3 separate regions of the Homo sapiens genome follow, and all the other regions are linked to region 2. The links are contacts of gene promoters, found by promoter capture Hi-C in blood cells and fetal thymus (Javierre and others, 2016). All regions are on one chromosome and are shown on one strand. The core of a region is centred on a gene start or on the middle of the fragment in contact, and the rest is flanking DNA. Distances in the headings are between cores, read along the strand shown. Region 1 has its middle 28 kb from the start of CLEC2D. Region 2 holds the start of GABARAPL1 (GABA type A receptor associated protein like 1). Region 3 has its middle 6.2 kb from the start of LINC02366.

Evidence for each region. Contacts are between HindIII fragments. The CHiCAGO score rates a contact against its expected background, and 5 or more counts as called.
Region 1: a contact is called between a fragment that was not itself captured here and the fragment with the promoter of GABARAPL1 in region 2, in 1 of 17 cell types (neutrophils). The highest score is 5.1, in neutrophils.
Region 3: a fragment that was not itself captured here is called in contact with the fragment with the promoter of GABARAPL1 in region 2 in 2 of 17 cell types (naive CD8 T cells and total CD8 T cells); the score reaches 8.6 in naive CD8 T cells.

What each region holds. Positions count from the first base shown.
Region 1 is chr12:9,639,170-9,643,557 of GRCh38, forward strand. It overlaps the pseudogene LOC374443 and the pseudogene GOT2P3. Among named protein-coding and RNA genes, the nearest start is that of CLEC2D, 28 kb to the right of the region's middle. The HindIII fragment of the contact is 5,494 bases long and covers 1-4,170 here.
Region 2 is chr12:10,210,580-10,214,860 of GRCh38, forward strand. It overlaps GABARAPL1 (GABA type A receptor associated protein like 1), which reads left to right and starts at 2,298. Exons shown (of 4, transcript NM_031412.4): 1 at 2,298-2,640. The coding sequence starts at 2,551. It overlaps GABARAPL1-AS1 (GABARAPL1 antisense RNA 1), which reads right to left. Exons shown (of 3, transcript NR_170310.1): 1 at 4,063-4,281; 2 at 3,475-3,790; 3 at 3,070-3,383. RefSeq lists an enhancer at 1,535-2,077 and a silencer at 2,171-2,430. The HindIII fragment of the contact is 15,130 bases long and covers 1-4,281 here.
Region 3 is chr12:10,741,982-10,746,161 of GRCh38, forward strand. No RefSeq gene overlaps it. Among named protein-coding and RNA genes, the nearest start is that of LINC02366, 6.2 kb to the right of the region's middle. The HindIII fragment of the contact is 6,352 bases long and covers 1-4,180 here.

The sequences.
Region 1 (4,388 bases), core at 174-2,673, 570 kb before region 2:
GACTTTTATTGGCTCTGCAAGTTGAGCTTGACTCCTTAAAGAGAAGCATACCCTTCCAGTCAAAGCCTTGGTAAAACAACCAGTTACTCCAATTGCATCCTGTTGCAAAAGAAAATGGATTTTTACTGCACTGATGCAAACAAGTATATTGCTGTAAGTTAAGAATACTCACAGATAATTTCCAAATTCTACAGGAACCAGGCAGAGAGAAGCAAATATACTCCAAATTTTGTTCACAGGAGTATACTCTACTCAATGATTAAAGGCTATAAATAGTTCAAAATATGTTTTCTTGACTCTAAAAAACAAAACAAGGATCAGCAATATCCAAGCAAAATTGAGAAAGATTGCTTCATTTTTTTGAGTTCACCCAGTTAACCCTTATTTTGCTTGATATTTATGAACATTTTAGCTCTTCATGAGTTCTGTACATTTTTCCTTTATTCCAATGTCACAATCCCCAAAGGTATGAGAAACCTGTATCTGAGAGCACTTGTAAAAGTTCTCTAGCTTATTATAAACCATCTTTTGAAAAAGATTAAAACAACAATTGTCTGTGAATAACAATATGTCCAGGGTAGTTACAGTTAGAAACACAATTGACAAAGTTTTGTTATCTCTGTAGTTTACAATAACTTAACAACTTTAATTATGATTGATAGGATATTCTTTAGACATTAGAATTTTAGAAATTCCATACAATTTTGGAACACATATTAGTATTATTCACCAAAATATGACCTAAAGAAGACTGAATACCATTTTGGCAATCCCATGTACCTAAACGTGTCACATAATCCTGTTTACCTTTCTTTTCTGAACACTCCAGGGGCCCTCTGAAGTATCTGAAAAGCCAGGTGTCAGAAAAGACAATTTTGAAACTGAAGTTTGATTTTGGAAAGCCTATTAAATATATTAGAGGCTTAAAATACTTGCTGTTATGAAATAGAATTCCGGATTACCATAAGTTATTTATTTTGCTGAAATAACAACTAAGAAATTTTTTTAAAGAAAAAACCTTGTACAGCCCTTTCATACAAATTTTGCTGACGAGCAGATTAGTGCCTTAAGGATACCTTGCTGTGCTTTTATTTGAATGCTCAATTTACAGAAAAATCATACAATACTTTTTGAAGTTAGTCAATATGTTCACACAGAGAATTTGTTGCAAGATTAATTTTTACAATCCTTCCACCAGTTGTTTGAACTTTTAGCTTTATCTTATCTAATTTAAAACAAATCTTCAACCCTAGGCAGGAATTTACATTTTTATGATTTCTTATAATCTTTATTAAAAACACATTTCACTGTCCTTATGCACCTTGCATGTAAATCTATTTCCAATAGTCTCAATTACATGTCATAATGGTAACTTTTAGCAGTTTTTAACTTTAATGTAAAACCTGGTAAGTTGTTTTGATTATGTGCTAGATGCAGCCAAGGTTTGACTCCTTCCAACATAATTAAGGGAGTGTTTAGTTCCATGTGTCCCCAGGCCTTGCCAATTGTGAAGCCAGCAAATTGAAAAGTTCTCAAAAACCAAAAAAGCAGTTTATGACCTTAAAATATTTTGCCAACCTAGTATCTGACCTGCATAATTTAGTCCACCTATTTACATTTTTATGACATCTGCTTTTTACCAATAATCTTTAAGGCTGTTTTTATTTCTCCAAGATTAAAGTCACGTGAACTGAAAGGTACCACAGCTTTTTATCTTCTCTTTCATAAAATATTTGATCCAAGTGCTTGTCTTCCTTTAGGCAAAATTAATTAGAGCTCTTTTTTTTATGTAAACATCACACACACAACACATATAGAATTACACAGACAGGTAGAAGATAACCCGGTCCCCATAAGATCTTTCATTTGCCAATCTCCTAATTGGATTATTGGCCTCTGGGTGCTTTTAATTTCTGGAGTCCATGAGAAAAAAAAGAGGTCTCTCCTCTCTTGTGCGTGCATTAAAAAAGTGGCAAAGCAAAATGAAGAAAAAATAATTCAGTTGACCAAGAAAAACCTTTTCCCAGCAAAACAAGGTCCAAGAAAAGGGAAACCTTTTAAATATGACTCTAACTTGGATATCCACTTTTAGTTAAGCTGAGCACTCCTTAAGAAATTCCTCTTAACTCCCTTATTATCTGAATTTAGCCACACCAAGTGGCCAATATTTCTGGCTTTCAAACTTTACTAAAGGCTCAGAGAAAGGAAAATCCAAGGCAGTTCATGGAGAGAAATGGAATCAACAAATAGCAAAAGGTCATGCAGATATCAAACCAGGTAAGACTCATTCCCTAAGCCAGGATTGAATCCAAGCTACACAGAGGCTACACAAAACCTTGCCAAGTGGTTACAGGTCTTGCTCCCAAGGATGTTAAACAAGATGGAGGTCCTCAGCAAATTTGCTATGGACCATACAGAAAGACATGCAAAGCAGACCAGATTGGCTACAGCTTCAGATCAGCCTCACAAATCGTCTCTCGCAATTAAAACACTACAGAGAGCCCTCTGCTCAGTCCTGCAGCTGCCCACTGCCCTCCTACTGTCCACCGTGGCCCTGCTGCACTCTGGCTGCGTCCTCTCTGGGATCGCTGCCACCTTCCACCTGGGCCTCGCAGCTGCGGCCTCTGCCAGAGCCAGCTCCTGATGGACCCATGTGGAAATGGGACCTCCAGATATCATCCTGGCAGTCATTGAAGACTTTAAGAGGGACACCAATAGCAAAAAGATGAATCTGGGAGTTGGTGCCTACCGGGATGATAACGGAAAGCCTTGGACGTGCTGCCTAGCGTCCCCAAGGCAGAGGCCCAGATTGCCACAAAAAGTTTGGACAAGGAATACCTGTCCACTGGGGGACTGGCTGAATTTTGCAAGGCATCTGCAGAACTAGCCCTTGGTGAGAACAGCGAAGTCTTGAAAAGTGGCCGGTTTGTCATTGTGCAGACCATTTCTGGAACTGGAGCCTTAAGGATTGGAGCCAGCTTTCTGCAAAGATTTTTTAAGTTCAGCTGAGATGTCTTTCTGCCCAAACCAAGCTGGGGAAATCACACGCCCATCTTCAGGGACACTGGCATGCAGCTACAAGGTTATCGGCTTTATGACCCCAAGACTTGCGATTTTGACTTCACAGGCGCTGTGGAGGGCCTTTCAAAAATACCAGAGCAAAATGTTGTTCTTCTGCATGCCTGCACCCACAATCCCACGGGAGTGGACCCAGGTCTGGAACAGTGGAAGGATACAGCAACAATGGTGAAGAAGAAGAGTCTCTTTGCCTTCTTTGACATAGCCTACCAAGGCTTTACCAGTGGTGATGGTGATAAGGATGCCCGGGCTGTGCACCACTTCTTTGAACAGGGCATTAATGTTTGTCTCTGCCAATCATATGCCAAGAACATGGGCTTATATTGTGAGCGTGTAGGAGCCTTCACTGTAGTATGCAAAGATGCGATGAAACCAAAAGGGTAGAGTCACAGTTGAAGATCTTGATCCATTCCACGTATGCCAACCGTCCCCACAATGGGGCCCAGATTGCTTCTACCATTCTGAACACCCCAGATTCATGAAAACAATGGTTGCAAGAAGTGAAAGGCATGGCCGACCACATCATTAGCATGCGGACTCAGCTTGTCTCCAACCTCAAGAAGAAGGGTTCCACCCACAACTGGCCACATAGCACTGCCCAAACTGGCATGTTTTGTTTCACAGGGCTAAAGCCTGAACAGGTGGAGTGGCTAACCAAGGAGTTCTCCATCTATATGACAAAGGACGGCCGCATTTCTGTGGCAGGGGTCACCTCCGGCAACGTGGGCTACCTTGCCCATGCCATTCACCAGGTCACCAAGTAATGTACCTGGTGCAAGGAAACAGAGACGACCTTTCTGTCTTCAGCCTCTGCTATTGGGAGCTTCACACAGAGGATGAGAGAGAGCGGATGGTGGTGAGTGGATCATTTTCTTCAACCACGGTGTGTAACACTCAGCAATTGAATGTTTCTCAGAAAAGAACGTGTAGTGACACAGGGCAGAGGGATCCGTGGCTGGCGTCTGGAACATTGTGGCTCTAAACCAAATGCTCCCCTGTCCTTTTATCCCCAACTTTTCTCAAAGAGTTTACATGTACAAGAAAGTCACCACACCAAAAAACCTGTCAATTATGCCATTGCAATATTTCAGAAGCTTTAACTGAAGTGTCATATAGTGTCAGGTTCCTCATGAGAAATAGCACACATTAGAGGCTTTGAGAGAAGACCTAGTTCTGTCATGAACACTTGGCCTCATGTCTGTCCTCCCATCATGGAGCAGCCTTATCAACAGACCACATTGCAGAAATTATGTTTTATGAAAACCAGTAAGTCTGCTGCCACTACAGCAAGGAAAGGAATGCAGTTTCCT
Region 2 (4,281 bases), core at 1,048-3,547:
AAACTCCATATCAAATAAATAAATAAAATAAATAAAATCCATGAGTTATTTTATCACATTATATGTTTATAATTTTAAGTCTTACTTTCAAATTGAAAACAGTTTAATTTTCAGTCGCTCATGTTAGGTTTTTTTTTTTTTTTTTAGACAGAGTCTAGCTCTGTCGCCCAGGCTGGAATGCAGTGACACGATCTTGGCTCACTGCAAGCTCCCGCTACCACGCCCGGCTAATTTTTTTGTATTTTTAGTAGAGGCGGGGTTTCACGTGCTAGCCAGGATGGTCTCGATCTCCTGACCTCGTGATCCACCCACCTCCGCCTCCCAAAGTGCTGGGATTACAGTCGTGAGCCACTGCGCCCGGCCTCATTTTAGTTTTGATGCAAATATAGTTAAACCCTCCCGGGTTCTCCCTTCCGGGTTCAAGTGATTCTCCTGCCTCAGGCTCTCGAGTAGCTGGGGACTACAGGCGAGCGCCACCAGGCTCAGCTAATTTTTTCTGTATTATTAGTAGAGACGGGGTTTCACTCGTCTCATGTTGGCCAGGATGGTCTCTATCTCTTGACCTCGTGATCCACCCACCTTGGCCTCCCAAAGTGCTGGGATTACAAGCATGAGCCAACGCGCCCGGCCTATTTTTATTTATTTATTCTTTTTGAGACAGAGTCTTGCTCTCTCTCCCAGGCTGGAGTACAGTGGGCGATCTCAGCTCACTGCAGCCACTGCCTCCCGGATTCAAGCGATTCTCCTGCCTTAGCCTCCACAGTAGCTGAGACTGTAGGAGCGCGCCACCATGCCTTGTTAATTTTTGTTTTTTCTGTAGAGACAGGGTTTTGCCATGTTACCCAGGCTGGTCTTGAACTCCTGAGCTCAAGCGATCCTCGGCCTGGGCCTCCCAAAGTGCTGGGAGAACAGACGTGAGCCACCGCGCCTGGCCCCCTGTGGGTGTTTTTAAAATTAGAGACACTGAGACCCCGACTGAAGAAGATAGGCCACGGGGCTGCTGTTATCTAATATTTATCAGAACTCACCCGACTTGTATGGGCAACGCAGCCCCTTTTCACTGTTCTTTTTCTTTGCAAACTCCACAGTCCTCCCTGTCGCTGCCCTACAGTACTGGTTGGAAGGTCTTTCTTCTTTGACTCTAGGTGGGGAAATCCAGAACGAGGCTTCGCCTCACCTGCCCTAATGCCCAATCTTCTACTAGCATTCCAGGCAGCGCTTTCTAGTCACGTGAGGGATACCTAACCACTGGAACTAAATAAGATGTGGGGGAACAACTGAGGTCATCACCTAAATTGCTTGATACTCTCTTTTCCAGAAGACGAGCCCCCTTTCTGAGTTTATGGCAGAAAGTGAATCCCTCCCTCCCTCCCTTCCTTTCTTTTTCTGTAAGACGGTGTTTCGCTCTTGTTGCCCAGGCTGGAGTGCGACGCCGTGATCTCCGCTCGCCGCAACCTCCGCCTCCCGGGTTAGAGCGGTTCTCCTGCCTCAGCCTCCAGAGTAGCTGGGATTACAGCCATGCGCCACCACGCCCAGCTAATTTTGTATTTTTAGTAGAGACAGGGTTTCTCCATGTTGGTCAGGCTGGTCTCGAACTCCTGACCTCAGGTGATCCGCCCGCCTCGGCCTCCTGGGATTACAGGCGTGAGCCACCGCGCCCGGCTAGAAAGTGAATCATTTCTATATTTGATTGTACGTGAAGCCCTCGGTAGTCCTTACTGACATCATGTCTCCTTTAGACTTTGATTACACTCCGTGTCCTTCATCTGACTCCTCTCTTCAGATTCCTGAGTCACGCTCTGTTTATGTTGCTGTTCAGGAGCGAACTGCGGCACCGCCCAAACACTGTGACGCCAGCGCGGGAGGAGGGCCGCGGGAGGGGCAGCGGAACGCGCAGAGGGCACGGTGCAAGCACGGGACAGCTCTGCATTGGCCAAAGGGATCCCAGGAGGCCTGGCCCTCTTTTCTCCTGAGGCTGGATCCCAACCAGCAGGAAAAGGCTGGATTTTCGCCTTTTGTATTTGTTTTGGGGCCCAACCAAGAAAAACAGTGGAGGGGGAATAAAACATGTTTAAATCTTTTTTTTGTCTTAAAACCATCTTTAATTTCACAGTCACAAAATAAAACATAACTCGAATGTTTTGATGTTTGCAGTGACATCGATTGTGAAAAAGGTTAGCCAGAAAGGAAACGCAGTGAGACAGAGCGCTCGGCCACCCCCTGCCCTGGGCGCCTGGCGCATGGGGGGCGGGGCGGGGCTCGCGGGGTGACGTCACAGCCCGACGCGCCACCCAGCTGTTTTTGTGCTCCCAGCTCTAGCGAAAAGCCGCCGGTATTTCTCCATCTGGCTCTCCTCTACCTCCAGGCAGGCTCACCCGAGATCCCCGCCCCGAACCCCCCCTGCACACTCGGCCCAGCGCTGTTGCCCCCGGAGCGGACGTTTCTGCAGCTATTCTGAGCACACCTTGACGTCGGCTGAGGGAGCGGGACAGGGTCAGCGGCGAAGGAGGCAGGCCCCGCGCGGGGATCTCGGAAGCCCTGCGGTGCATCATGAAGTTCCAGTACAAGGAGGACCATCCCTTTGAGTATCGGAAAAAGGAAGGAGAAAAGATCCGGAAGAAATATCCGGACAGGGTCCCCGTGAGTGTAGAGGAGCGGAGGGGATGGGAGGGGAAGGGCCCGCGGGGGCGGGGGCGGGTAGTCGAGATGGCTTCCCTGGGGCGCCCAGGCGGCTCTGGAGAAGGGAGGTTCCGAGAATTACTTAATCCTGAACGCCCTTCAGTGCCAGAGCCAATGGACGTCCAGACTGTAGAGCTTTTAAAACCCCGTATGCCTGGGCCCCGAACCCCACTTCAGGGCTGACGGCGTTTTGGGGGCCGAGCCGCCGTCTTCAGTGACTCAGCAACCCACACACGGTCTCAGCAGCTGAGACCGTGTGTGGGTTGCGGTGCACAAAATAGGGCCCCTGTGGGCGAGACTGGTTAGATCGGGGCCATGGATTGGCTGCCTTTAAGAACGCAGGGACATTGTGCTGTGCGGTGAGGTTTGCGCAAACCCAGTCGATTTCTGCCTTGGCTGGTTCTCCTTTAATGAAGTTGACTTTGGCTCTCATATCATTGGTCTTGGGACGAAAAGGTTCAGAAGCTATTCAGTAATTTTCTTGCATTACAGGGGGTTAGGGGAGCACAAGACAGTCCTGGCCTGGAAAACAAGGTCACGTTCTCTGCCCAACAGCCCTCTTGCCTCATCGTTCTAGGCTCCGGGGCTTGTGTGGGGACAGCCAGCCTCCTCGTGTTGATTTCTGATCACCTGGTACCTGGTCGCGATAAGGCAGGACTGAGACGTTTTTTCTCCGTTTTGGACACCGGCTTAAGTAGTTAAAACTACCGCAGGCAGTGAGTAGGAACAGAAAAGTATTAGGTATCTTTCAGCATCCGGGCGTTTTCCCCATTACCCCCTCCCCCGCCCACTTGCCTGGTGTTTCTCTAATGCAGGCTGCGCAGCCGAATTGGAGGGCAGAATATGGCTTAAGTGGTAGGGGGACCAGCAGCTGTTGGATTTTGGAAATGGAGGAGCGGAGATTTTAAAATTGTGCTCTTTATCTTCAGGTAGGAACATTAGTATTACGTGTCACATAATGGTAAAATAATTGCTGTTATCTGATGTCTTTTCTTGACTCACAGCCACTCTGGGTTTCTTCTCTAATCCTTACCTAACGTTCGTGGTTTTATAGCTACCAGAAGCCACCAGGGCCTTAGCCCAGCAGTAGAAACCTCTTGTAACCCTTTTCCTTTAAAAAGAAAAAAAAGTCATTAGGGCTCTTCATTCCCCAGGAATTACAAAAAGGTTTTCAGCTTATAGAGGGGTGAGCTAATCCCTTACTCGGGAAAGGATCCTTTACAAATTACTTTCCTGGTTTCTGGACCTTGGATACCTGAAAATTTTGCCCAGTTCTGGTGATACCAATCTTTTGAGCAATGATATTTAAAAAATACAATCAAGTTTTATTGATAGTTTACCCTAGCGGTATTATAAGTACTCAGTCTGTAATCATTGACTTACTTCCTTACACGATTACCCGTTCTACAGATGGAGTATTCAAAGCACAAAGAAATGCAGTAACTTCCTAAAGGTTTCACATTGCTGATCTGTGGTTGAGCTGGAATTCCAACCCTGTCTGAAGGACTGTGGAGCTCTCGGGTATCTTAACCTCCATGCCATATTGTTTCTCAGTTTCTAATATAGTTGTATTAACCAGAATTAATGACGTGCTGTGGACTT
Region 3 (4,180 bases), core at 1,197-3,696, 530 kb after region 2:
CATGGAATATTGACAAAATGAGGAAGTTATTCTGCAATGAAACCTCTGTTTCATAACTGCCAGGGAACTTGAAATGGGAACTATAAGAGGTATAAGATAACTCAACTTTGTAGAAACATTTGTAGAAACATTTGGCTTGAAACTACTGTGGGTTTGACTTTGAATTTTTGCCTAGATGATCTTGTAGTTCTGTTTCTTTTGTTTGCAAAATAGGAATAATGATGGTTATGATGATGATGACTGAAAAAACTTTTGTAAGGATTAAGTAACCTAATTGAGTTCCTTGCACATAATAGGACCCTAAAGTAATGTATGGTGCCTTCTCTGAGTTCTAGACATTATAACATATTCTATGCACTGGGCATTTTAGTATATGTTATCTGATAGTGTTCTCAACATCACTTTTAATAGGTATTAAGAAAACCAGGATACAGTCAAACAAATGTCCTCAGAGAGTTAGGTAAATCCTCAGATTCCATATTTAGTAAATGGCAGACCTAGATCTTAAAGACTGGATGGCCTGGCAACAAAGCTGTAATAATTCCCTTATACCATGCTCCTTCACAAACATGTGACAATTTGAGCACATATTTTTTCCCTTTTCATTTTGTCTAGTACTAGCCTTGACTCCAGCTTTTGAGCTTTCACTTACCTTTGAGAGTATGTAGATGGCATTTGTGAATGCACCTATGTATTTCTTAACTCTCCAGACCACCATTGTACCAAATCGTAAATGGACCTTGAGAAGGAGGCCAGTTAAAAATTTTGCTGTATATATTTGTTTGATTTTGGTTTTTGTTACATTTGGTTGTGTTTGGTATAACTCTTTATAAACCTAGAAAAATGTCAGTTAGAAATGGTTTCTCTGTCCTGAGCTTAGAGCAAGAGTTCTTAAAGTGCAATCCCAGATCAGCAGCATTGCATCATCAGGGAATTTGCGAGAGATGCAAATTCTTGGACCATATACCCCAGACCTAGTGAATCGGAAATTTGAAGGGGAAGAAGGTGTCTGGCAGGCAGAAGTCTATGTTTTAACAAGCCCTGTAGGCAATTCTAGAGGGTACTGTAGTTTGGGAAGCACTGATGTAGGGCATAAGCAGCATGTAATTTAGCTTTTGATAATAGCTTACACTTATAATGCATTGGTAACTTTTGCCTTTCTTTTTTGCTAAGTATAATAATAAATGTTGGTTGTAAACAACTTCAGAATGTCATTTTAAAAATTCACTGACTTGCTTCTAATCAAGATATTAAATATCCTTGCTACATCTGCTTTATTATTATTATTAATTTTCCCTAGGCTAAAGTCTCTTTTTACTATTATACTTTAAGTTCTAGGGTACATGGGCACAACATGCAGGTTTGTTACATATGTAAACATGTGCCATGTTGGTTTGCTGCACCCATTAACTCATCATTTACATTAGGTATTTCTCCTAATGCTATCCCTCCCCCATCCCCCCACCCACGACAGGCCCCTCTGTGTGATGTCCTGCAACCTGTGTCCAAGTGTTCTCGTTGTTCAATTCCCATCTATGAGTGAGAACATGCAGTGTTTGCTTTTCTGTCCTTGCGATAGTTTGCTGAGAATGATGGTTCCCAGCTTCATCCATGTCCCTACAAAGGATATGAACTCATCCTTTTTTGTGGCTGCATAGTATTCCATGGTGTATATGTGCCACATTTTCTTAATCCAGTCTATCATTGATGGACATTTGGTTTGGTTCCAAGTCTTTGCTGTTATGAATAGTGCCGCAATAAACATTCGTGTGTATGTGTCTTTATAGAAGCATTATTTATAATCCTTTTGGTATATACCCAGTAATGGGATCGCTGGGTCAAATGGTAATTCTAGTTCTAGATCCTTGAGGAATTGCCACACTGTCTTCCACAATGGTTGAACCAACTTACACTCCCACCAACAGTGTAAAAGCATTCCTATTTCTCCACATCCTCTCCAGCATCTGTTGTTTCCTGACTTTTTAATGATCACCATTCTAAGTGGTGTGAGATGGTATCTCATTGTAGTTTTGATTTGCATTTCTCTGATGGCTAGTGATGATGAGCATTTTTTCATGTGTCTGTTGGCTGCATAGATGTCTTCTTTTGAGAAGTGTCTGTTCTTTGCCCACTTTTTGATGGGGTTGTTTTTTTCTTGTAAATTTGTTTGAGTTCTTTGTAGATTCTGGATATTAGCCCTTTGTCAGATGGGTACGTTGCAAAAATTTTCTCCCATTCTGTAGGTTGCCTGTTCACTCTGATGGTAGTTTCTTTTGCTGTGCAGAAGCTCTTTAGTTTGATTAGATCCCATTTGTCAATTTTGGCTTTTGTTGCCATTGCTTTTGGTATTTTAGTCATGAAGTTCTCGCCCATGCCTATGTCCTGAATGGTATTGCCTAGGTTTTCTTCTAGGGTTTTTATGGTTTAGGTCTAACATTTAAGTCTTTAATCCATCTTGAATCAATTTTTGTATAAGGTGTAAGGAAGTGATCCAGTTTCAGCTTTCTACATATGGCTAGCCAGTTTTCCCAGCACCATTTATTAAATAGGGAATCCTTTCCCCATTTCTTGTTTTTGTCAGGTTTGTCAAAGATCTGACGGTTGTAGATGTGTGTTGTTATTCCTGAGGCCCCTGTACTGTTCCATTGGTCTATCTCTCTGTTTTGGTACCACTATCATGCTGTGTTGGTTACTATAGCCTTGTAGTATAGTTTGAAGTCAGGTAGTGTGATGCCTCCAGCTTTGTTCTTTTTGCTTAGGATTGTCTTGGCAATGCAGGCTTGTTTTTTATTTCCATATGAACTTTAAAGTAGTTTTTTCCAGTCATTGGTAGCTTGATGGAGATGGCATTGAATCTATAAATTACCTTGGGCAGTATGTGCATTTTCACAATATTGATTCTTCCTATCCATGAATCTGGAATGTTCTTCCATTTGTTTGTGTCCTCTTTTATTTTGTTGAGCATTGGTTTGTAGTTCTCCTTGAAGAGGTCCTTCACATCCCTTGTAAGTTGGATTCCTAGGTATTTTATTCTCTTTGTAGCAATTGTGAATGGGAGTTTACTCGTGATTTGGCTCTCTGTTTGTCTGTTACTGGTGTATAGTAATGCTTGTGATTTTTGCACATTGATTTTGTATCCTGAGACTTTGCCGAAGTTGCTTATCAGCTTAAGGAGATTTTGGGCTGAGACAGTGGGGTTTTCTAAGTATATAATCATGCCATCTGTAAACAGGGACAATTTGACTTCCTCTTTTCCTAATTGAATACTCTTTATTTCTTTCTCTTGCCTGATTGCCCTGGCCAGAACTTCCAACACTATTTTAATAGGAGTGGTGAGAGAGGGCATGCCTGTCTTGTGCCAGTTTTCAAAGGGAATGCTTCCAGTTTTTGCACATTCAATATGATATTGGCAGTGGATTTGTCATCAATAGCTCTTATTATTTGGAGATACGTTCCATCAATATCTAACTTATTGAGAGTTTTTATCATGAAGCGCTGTTGAATTTTGTCAAAGACCTTTTCTGCATCTATTGAGATAATCATGTGCTTTTTATCTTTGGTTCTGTTTATGTGATAGATTATGTTTATTGATTTGCATATGTTGAACCAGCTTTGCATCCCAGGGACAAAGCCAACTTGATCTTGGTGGATAACCTTTTTGATGTGCTGCTGGATTCGGTTTGCCGGTATTTTATTGAGGATTTTCTCATCGATGTTCATCAGGGATATTGGCCTAAAATTCTCTTTTTTTGTTGCGTCTCTGTCAGGCTTTGGTATCAGGATGATGCCGGCCTCATAAAATGAGTTAGGGAGGATTCCTTCTTTTTCTATTGATTGGAATAGTTTCAGAAGGAATGGTACCAGCTCCTCTTTGTACCTCTAGTAGAATTTGGCTGTGAATCTGTCTGGTTCTGGACTTTTTTTGGTTGGTAGGCTATTAATTATTGCCTCAATTTCAGAGCCTGTTATTGGTCTATTCAGGGATTCAACTTCTTCCTGGTTTAGTCTTGGGAAGGTGTGTGTGTCCAGGAATTTATCCATTTCTTCTAGATTTTCTAGTTTCTTTGCGTAGAGATGTTTATAGTATTCTCTGATGGTAGTTTGTATTTCTGTGGGATCAGTGGTAATATCCCCTTTATCATTTTTTATTGCATCTATTTGATTCTTCTCTTTCTTCTTC